Regions from separate parts of the Homo sapiens genome. Here all the other regions are linked to region 2. The links are contacts of gene promoters, found by promoter capture Hi-C in blood cells and fetal thymus (Javierre and others, 2016). All regions are on one chromosome and are shown on one strand. Each heading gives the region's core, a stretch centred on a gene start or on the middle of the fragment in contact. The rest is flanking DNA. Distances are from core to core; before and after follow the strand shown.

Region 1 (3,046 bases), core at 239-2,738, 140 kb after region 2:
ACTATGAAGACCATCCACATTCAAATCAAAGTAGTAAACAGATCTCAAAGTTAGAACTATTACAATATCCACTATTTTATATTATGTTTGCCACTATTTCCATGTTAGCAAAGATAACAAGAGTTGCTTCAAAAAACAAAAAGGACCTATTATGAGGTGCCTTAAAAATTCTAACTAGATTCAAGCTAAAATTGGCTCTTTCCATAAGTCAAATAGGCATTTTGTCATAATATCACTGGGTTTTTAAAACAAATAAGCTTTAGGATATGACAAAGCAATCTACATAATGCAGATCTTTGGTGTTTTTTTTTTTTAAGTACAATCTTATAGAGAGCACCGATCTCTATTACCCTTCCTTCTATCTATTTCATCAGTTTAAATGAGACTTCCTCTGGAGACATCACAGCAAAGTAATTACCACCCTGGGAATGGACATATGCTGAGCAATAACAACCACAAAAAAGACACATCTTTGAAGACAGAATGAATATAATCCACCTAGTTCTGACCATTCAATTTCATAAGAATCTGGCCATACATCATATTTCTATCCTTTAAATCTGTTACAAGAAAGCGGTAAAATAAAACTTGGAGATAAAGAGCAGAGGTAGAAATTTAAAACAGAGATGACACAAATTTGGTCGGCCATTATTTTATTAGTCAAACTATACACAAGATTGCATAAGAATGGAGATGCAGTGTGATTTATGCAATATTGTATTCCTAAAAAGAGTAGTGAATGTTTGATTTTTAAATTCAAGTTACAATTTAAACAATGTTTAGAAATCTTTCACCATGCTAACAGCCACTCCTAATTTCTCTCTCTCAAAGCTGTCCTCTGGCTCTTGGCAGGTTGAGCTTTTGAGTGCAACAAGCACATGACAAATTGACAGGCTCTGAGCTTGTGTCCGCTGCTGAACTTGGGAATCGTGCCCTGTATTCCTCATCCTTTTGGGCGAAGGCTCCCTTTCCTTGAGTATGTCATGGTCATCAGAGTCAGGAATGTTGAACTAACAGGAGAAGCAAGAGTCAGAACAGGAATCCACATAGCTTTGGTCTGAACTCTGAATATTCTTTAAGTGACGCTTGCTTCTGATTATAGGCTAAGACCATGTTCTTCTCATTCATGAGCATTTTAAAACTTCAGATGAGTCTCTAAACAACGTTAAATACTGACATGGTCCCAAACTTACAAAGGCTAGGATGTTAAATACAAAGGCATAACATTGTTTAAGACTGGAAAAGGTAACATACTTAAGGAAACTACATTTCTTTACAAAAGCATCACAAACCCAGAGATCACGCAATATTCTGTTTGAGTATGTTTTCCTCAGCGGAAAGCACTTAATATTTAAATTATACTTGGTTAAATATTGGCAGTCAGCAAATCCAGCCACAAAGAAAGTGAACCCATGAGTATGGTCCATGATCATCTTTTCCTTTTCCTAAAACTGTTAATACAGGAGATTCCAAAATGAAGAGTAAAAATGATACTCAAGTCTAATGTTTGATCCTCTAACGTAAACCTAAATTCATATTACTCACTGAATAAGTTAAAAAATCAATGTCAAACTACATATACTCCAACTAAAATGCTATACGTACATGAAGTCCAAAAAGTAGCTTTTAAAAAGTTACAAAGTATACAAAAACCTAACAATATTAATAAACAAAAAGGAAGATTACACACCAAAAAATTAGGAATGAAAACAATGGCATAATTACACAAAAAATAAAAGTTTTGAAAAATAACAGAATACTGTAAATACTTTATAGGAATACATTTGTAAATATGGCCAAAAGAGACAATTACCTAATAACACCAAATAGATTTTTTTAAAGTATGTTTACGTGTATGTATGTGCAGCCTGTTTGAAAGTATTTATTTATTTTTTCTTTTTTTGAGACAGAGTCTTGCTCTGTTACCCAGGCTGGAGTGCAGTGGCATGATCTCTACTCACTACAACCTCTGCCTCCAGGTTCAAGCAATTCTCATGCCACAGCCCCCTGAGTAGCTGGGACTACAGGCGCCCGCCACCACAACTGGCTAATTTTTGTGTTTTTAGTAGCAATGGGGTTTCACCACATTGGCCAGGCTGGTCTCAAACTCCTGGCCTCAAGTGATCCACCTGCCCTGGCCTCCCAAAGTGCTGGGATTACAAGTGTGAGCCACTGCACCTGGCTTGAGAGTATTTAATTATTAGAGAAAGGAGATTGAATTGGACCTGTAATATTTCAGAAGTACAATCAATAATTAAAAATCTTTTCAATCCCTCCCAAAACAAGACCCCAGTGGATTTAAAGATTTTTCTGAATATTCAAACTTTTCTTGATATCACAAAAGGGTTAAGGACTCCCAACTGCTTCAATGAGACAAGTTTAACTTTGATTCTAAAAGCAAACAAGAGCAGGCAAAATATTGGCAAACCCAACCTCACCATGATTAAAAGATATAACTACCTACATGAGAGACATTGTTGGTGTATGCCTTTTAACAAATTCATGAGATTATAAATTAAAACTTCAACAGATCATGCTATAACTTTAGAAGTGGTGCAAAGGATGCATTATCCCTGCAAAAAATGAAACTAAAATACAAATCAATTTCCTATAGCTTTCTCTTAGAGTTATCATTAAATACTAAAGAATGATAGATGTATACCCCCAAAAAGCACCTTATTTTCAGTGTTTTGTTTGTTTGTTTAATTTGGAAAGCTTTTTTTTTTAACAAAATAAGTTGAGGAAAGGCTATTATTATAGGATTTTCCAGATATTTCACAAGTACAATTTTAATTTCATGAGAAGAAAAACAATCTCAATTCGGGAACTTTGTGCAATAAAAAAACACAACCACCCAAAGACGTATATTTTGAGGGTCAATAATAAAAGGCAAAAAAGAAAAACTGCAACTTATAGAGCTACTGCCTCAATCATCCACGACCCCAAGTGAGTAAGATTTTATTAAAATGAAATAAAAGCACTGACAGCTATGAATTCGCCCTGAGGGCATAACCAATCACTGGTGATACAGTCATTTACAAAGAAC
Region 2 (2,771 bases), core at 194-2,693:
GCCAGGCAGGAGATCAATAATGTCTGCACAGCCTGGAGCTCCCTGGAGGAGAGTGTTACACCCTAGAACTGCAAGGAGTTACTACTGCGCTCTCAGGCCTCCTCTGTCAGCTGCAAGGAAGGGGAGCGAAATCCTGATACAGGGACTCCACCACACCACATAATGGGGCTGGGGTGAGGGGTCTAGGGGGGTGTCAGCTGCCCTGGTGGGGACAGGGAGGCAGCCAGAGTCCCCCTGTCCCCTGCTCTCTCCCTGCAGTCCCTCCCAAACCCTGAAGACATCAGACCAGGGAGTGGGACGTAGAAGGAGGGCTGAGGTCTGGAGAGCACCCTAAAACAAATGTCAGGAGAACAGAGGGAAGAATGCAAGCCAGAGTTTTCCTGGGAAAGGAAGATGAGGAAGATGCCCAGGACCCCACCTCCCCACCCCCAGGAAAGCCTGCTCTCCATATTCCTCCGAGGCAAAACATCTGGAGCCTGTCTTCTTGGGGCCAAGTTTAAAGTCCCTCTGCGCCCCAGTGAGGCTCAGCCCCATTGCTGCCTCTCTGTCCTAACTCCTTACCCTGATTTTTTCCTTCCTCCGAGCTCTCAATTCTGTCTGGCTCAGCCCTTGCCCTCTGCCCACTCAGGGAGGAGAGGCAGAACTCAGCTGAAAAGAAGGAGGGGGGCAGGCTTGGAACCCAGGCGGGACAAGCCCCACTCCTTGCAGGTCCCGTGGGTCGCAGAGGCATGCCACTCCTGGAGGGGTACCCCTACAAGCATGCTACCTGAAGGGTCAAAGTAGTGTTTAAAAGCAAAGAATACAGAAGCTTCGGGGGTGGAGAGGAGGGCGTCACGAGATTAAGGATGATTGTCCAGAGGTCTTTTCTCCTTTATTCTCACCGTTCAGAGGGGAACCCCAATCCTACCCCCACCTGGTGACCTCTCGATCGCTAGAAGCCTCTCTCACAAACCCCTGCTGGCAAGTCCCCCGCCTGCTCCCAACTTTCTCCCTGGAGCCTGGGCAGCTTCCCCTAAGGACAGAGGAGGGGAAGCCTGGCTCTCCTGAAGAAACTCACAGGAGTGAATCCCTGGCAAAGTCCCCTCTTCACTCAGAAGCCGCCGCACCCCACGGCCGCAGCCAGTGCAGCGCGGGGTCCCTGGAGCATCCTCCCCGGGAGGGCGCGCTCTGTACCTGCGGCATCGCGGAGCCCGGCAGGCAAGGTCCGGGTTTCTTATTCCGGGGCCGGATCAGGAGACGCTTCTTCCAGAAGCCGGCAGGCGAAGGGCAGGTCCCCGCTCCCTTCCTCCTCTGCTCGGGGCTCTTTCCCGGCTCTGGCGGGGGAGTTACCTTCGCGCCGCCGCTGCAGATCCCCCGACCCGGCCCGCGCCGGACTCCCTGTCCCCGCCTCCGGTGGCCGTGAGGCGCCGAGGTGCGGGCTCTTGGCGAGGCGTGTCGCCAGCTGGGCTGCAGAGGCCGGGATCGCCCTGGGCGGGAGCGTCCGGATCGCCCTGGGCGGGAGCGTCTGGAGCTCCCAGGCGGCAGCTCGCGACGAGGACGCGCGGGAGGGAGCCGGGCCAGGCGGGCTGCGCGTTGCCCGGCTCAGGCTTCGGAACGGCCGCCTGGGGCAGGAACGGGGTCGCTGGGGCTCCGGGCAGGGCTCTGCGTCAATCCCGCGCCGGGGGCACCCATGCAGGGCGGCTGTGCCCGCCTCGGGGCACGGGGCTCCTCGGCGGCTCACCTTGGCAGCCCAGCGCCGTCGGAGTGGACGGACACGGCCCCGCTCAGCCGCGAGCTTGCAAAGGACCGAGGAGCCTCCCCCGCTGCTCACACACCTCCTCAGGGGACACTCAGGGGCCGGCCCCAACCTGGTCCCCTGGGCCAGCCTGAACGGACACCAGGGCCATCTTTGTTGCCAGCTGCCCTACCTCTCCGTAAAAGAGGCTCAGAGAAGTGCTTTCTGGAGAGCAAACAAGGGGGCGGGGTAGCACACTGGAGAGAGGAAGGACCCCCGCCCAGGGATGTCTGCTTAGAAGGCTGGGACGGACAGCGCTGACTTACAGAGCACAGTCTACCTTTACAAGCCCATAGATTCCTCAAAACGTGAGGCATATAGTCCCGCAATCCCACTCCAAGGTATGTAACCCCAAACTATTGAAAGCAGGGACACACATACACTGATGTTCATGGCAGCACTATTCACAGTAGCCAAAAGACAGAAACAACCCAAATGTCCATCAGCTAAGTGGATTAACAAAATACATATAGTATATACATGCAATAGAATATTATCCAGCTGTAAAAAGAAATGATAACAAGTGTTGGTGAGAATGTGGAGAAACTGGAACCCTGTGCACTGTCGGTAGGAAAGTAAAATGGTGAAGCCACTGTAGAAAACAGTATAGGGTTTCCTCAAAAAGTTAAAAAATACAATTACCATATGATCGAGTGTTTCCACTTCCGGGTGTCTAACCCAAAAAATTAAAAGCAGGGTGATACGGTTTGGCTGTGTCCCCACCCAAATCTCAACTTGAATTGTATCTCCCAGAATTCCCACGTATTGTGGGAGGGACCCAGGGGAAGGTAATTGAATCATGGGAGCCTGTTTTTCCCATGCTATTCTCGTGATAGTGAATAAGCCTGACGAGATCCTGTGGGTTTATCAGGGGTTTCCACTTTTGCTTCTCCCTCAGTTTCCTCTTGATGCTACCACGTAAGGAATGCCTTTCACCTCCTGCCTTGATTCTGAGGCCTCCCCAGTCATGTGGAACTGTAAGTCCAATTAAACCTCC
Region 3 (2,893 bases), core at 90-2,589, 230 kb before region 2:
GTCTAGGCCAGTCTCGTCTTTTCACGTTTTTCTGCCTGCTTTATATTCTAACCGTGCTGGCGGCTGATTAGATGGTGCCTAGCTAGATTAAGGGTGGGTCTACCTTTCCCAGCCCACTGATTCAAATGTTAATCTCCTTTGGCAACACCCTCACAGACACACCCGGGATCAATACTTTGCATCCTGCAATCCAATCAAGTTGACAGTAAGTATTAACCATCACACCAAGCTTTTGCTGGAGCCTCTTGATGACAATTTTGATTGAGTCAGAAGGATGAATTTCGCAGAGATGTTGGTTATATTAACAACTCATTGCACAGATGGAGGACCTGAGGTCCACATCCAGCTACAAATTTCTGCCTGCCTCCTGCCTCCAGGCTGATCTGGGGACGTGTTGGCCTCTCAGCATTATTGCCCATGCCCTAGTCTGGTAGAAGAGTGGTTTAAAAGTGTGACTGTTTTATTCTTCATAAGAATCAGGCTGCCTTGGTTGAAATTGTGGCCCCATCACTTTGCAACTTTGTGGCCTCTGGCAAGCTATGGCACTTCACTGACCCATATATGTGATGGAGATAATGATACGGTTATTACAGGAGCACACTTGATGATAGGTGTAAAGCACTCAGTACAATGCCTGTTTGTAGGAAGCATCTAATAAATTCTAGTTGCCAGTATAACTAAGCACTTGCCCTATTTTTCAAATGCTATTTTAGCCAGATCAAATAGGTAGGAAAAAGCCTGTCAATCATGAAGTTTATACTTTCCTGTTTCTAAAAAGGTACACTTCTAAAAATTTATATAATTCATTTATAGCTATTAACTTAAACTTGGAAAGTTTGGATATTTGGTCTGTCTTCACAAGTGTTTATCTGAGCCCTACCTCTCAAATTAACATGTATCACCATTGATGTGCATTATGTTGATTCTTATACCTATTATATGCATGTGTGAAACTAAGCCCCATAAAAACAGAATTTAGGCATTCCTGCTGAAAGGAAGTGAATTGAAGGGAAGAGAAGCAGAGCCTTTGCAAAGAGAAAATTGTCCTATCTCTCAACCAGTGTCAGAATGTGGAAATGTTTACAAAATGCTCATTAAAAGAAATAGGGATTGCAAGATAGAAACAAATTCTGGTGCACAAGTTTACACTAGGGAGATAAGAAAGGCTAGGCCCCTATAGGGGATTTTGTTATCCAATTACTGCAACCTGACTTTTAGGGGGAGAGGAAGAGTGGTAGGGGGAGGGAGAGAGAGAGGAAGAGTTTCCAAACTTGTCTCCAGTGACAGGAGACATTTACGTTCCACAAGATAAAACTGCCACTTAGAGCCCAGGGAAGCTAAACCTTCCTGGCTTGGCCTAGGAGCTCGAGCGGAGTCATGGGCTCTCTGGTCCTGACACTGTGCGCTCTTTTCTGCCTGGCAGCTTACTTGGTTTCTGGCAGCCCCATCATGAACCTAGAGCAGTCTCCTCTGGAAGAAGATATGTCCCTCTTTGGTGATGTTTTCTCAGAGCAAGACGGTGTCGACTTTAACACACTGCTCCAGAGCATGAAGGATGAGTTTCTTAAGACACTAAACCTCTCTGACATCCCCACGCAGGATTCAGCCAAGGTGGACCCACCAGAGTACATGTTGGAACTCTACAACAAATTTGCAACAGATCGGACCTCCATGCCCTCTGCCAACATCATTAGGAGTTTCAAGAATGAAGGTAAGTTTTTGCTGATGAAATTTTGCTAGGATTTTTTTCAAGACACAATAAGTAAATTTACAATGCATGGGAATGATATAGGTAAGGGTAAATACATCTATATAAGGATGTTAAATACATATGGATACACAAAAACAAGGCACATTTTGTTCTATACCAATTATATAGTCATTTCAGGAACCTCGAAAAATACTTACAAACATCTTTTAATCCAAAGCCACAAAACATCTATCAATTTGACATCATAATTGGGTCCTTTTAAAAAATGTTAATTTGAACACCAAGTAATACAAAGAATTAATGTTGGTCTACTGCCGTACCTTTGTCATTTTCCAAATAGGCCTTGATTGCCATATGGGCTTTTAATTAACTAAAAAATTTCTCAACTTCTACTTAGAATAAAAAGGGTAAAAACAGTCAAAAAACATCAAATTGTGATTTGTGTTTTGTTCAAACTTTTGATAAGTTTTTATTTTGTGACCTTATTTAAGAAATGTTCAAACAGGATGGAAATATATTTTAAAGATTCTTCCTAAGGCTGTGTTGTTTGATGTGTCATGTACATCCTTAAAGCACTGTTTACAGTTTCCAGGAAGTGTAGATGGCCCATTAATCATCCAGCTCATCATTTCCGTCTTTATAAAGAGCAACGTACAAGCTTTGAATTATTGGTGGGAAAAGTGTGTTTTCTTCTCTTAGGTCTTTAAATTTGGTAACTAAATCTAATGAGCTAGCAAGTTAATGTTTTTGTTTGTTTGTTTGTTTGTTTGTTTTTTGGTTAATATGGTCCTAGTAGGAAAAAAAACCCCTGATATCTAGATATCTATAGTAGAAGCTGAAGGTCCAAAGGAACTAATTTAATTTTTGCCAGTTATGCTTTTATAGTCACTAACCAGGTATAAAAGAAGCTTCCCGTTAATATTGGCCAGATGTTCTTGAAAGAAGAAAGGTAATAGTGAAGAAATAGCTCAGGATTTGGGATTTTGAGAGCTAGTTGGCTTAGTGGTTGTGAATAATTAGCTGATGCCTCAGAGCCTCAATTTCCTCATCTATAAAGTGGGAGTAATAATACCTACATAACATAGTTGAGTGACTCAAAGGAGGTTACAGATAAGAAAGCACTCCATTTACTATGAAGTGCTGATCAAACTTTAGTGACTACTAATGAGTTACTTAATATTC

Evidence for each region. The method cuts DNA at HindIII sites, captures the fragments that hold promoters and counts their contacts. A CHiCAGO score of 5 or more calls a contact.
Region 1: a contact is called between a fragment that was not itself captured here and the fragment with the promoter of PROKR1 in region 2, in 1 of 17 cell types (megakaryocytes). The highest score is 5.7, in megakaryocytes.
Region 3: the fragment with the promoter of BMP10 here is called in contact with the fragment with the promoter of PROKR1 in region 2 in 6 of 17 cell types (activated CD4 T cells, naive CD4 T cells, non-activated CD4 T cells and 3 more); the score reaches 6.8 in activated CD4 T cells.

What each region holds. Positions count from the first base shown.
Region 1 is chr2:68,498,695-68,501,740 of GRCh38, reverse strand. The region is part of intron 2 of APLF (aprataxin and PNKP like factor); the gene reads right to left. Among named protein-coding and RNA genes, the nearest start is that of APLF, 33 kb to the right of the region's middle. The HindIII fragment of the contact is 2,458 bases long and covers 260-2,717 here.
Region 2 is chr2:68,642,251-68,645,021 of GRCh38, reverse strand. It overlaps PROKR1 (prokineticin receptor 1), which reads right to left and starts at 1,443. Exons shown (of 3, transcript NM_138964.4): 1 at 1,174-1,443. The HindIII fragment of the contact is 2,701 bases long and covers 811-2,771 here.
Region 3 is chr2:68,869,843-68,872,735 of GRCh38, reverse strand. It overlaps BMP10 (bone morphogenetic protein 10), which reads left to right and starts at 1,339. Exons shown (of 2, transcript NM_014482.3): 1 at 1,339-1,711. The coding sequence starts at 1,378. RefSeq lists a silencer at 1,363-1,523. The HindIII fragment of the contact is 2,140 bases long and covers 232-2,371 here.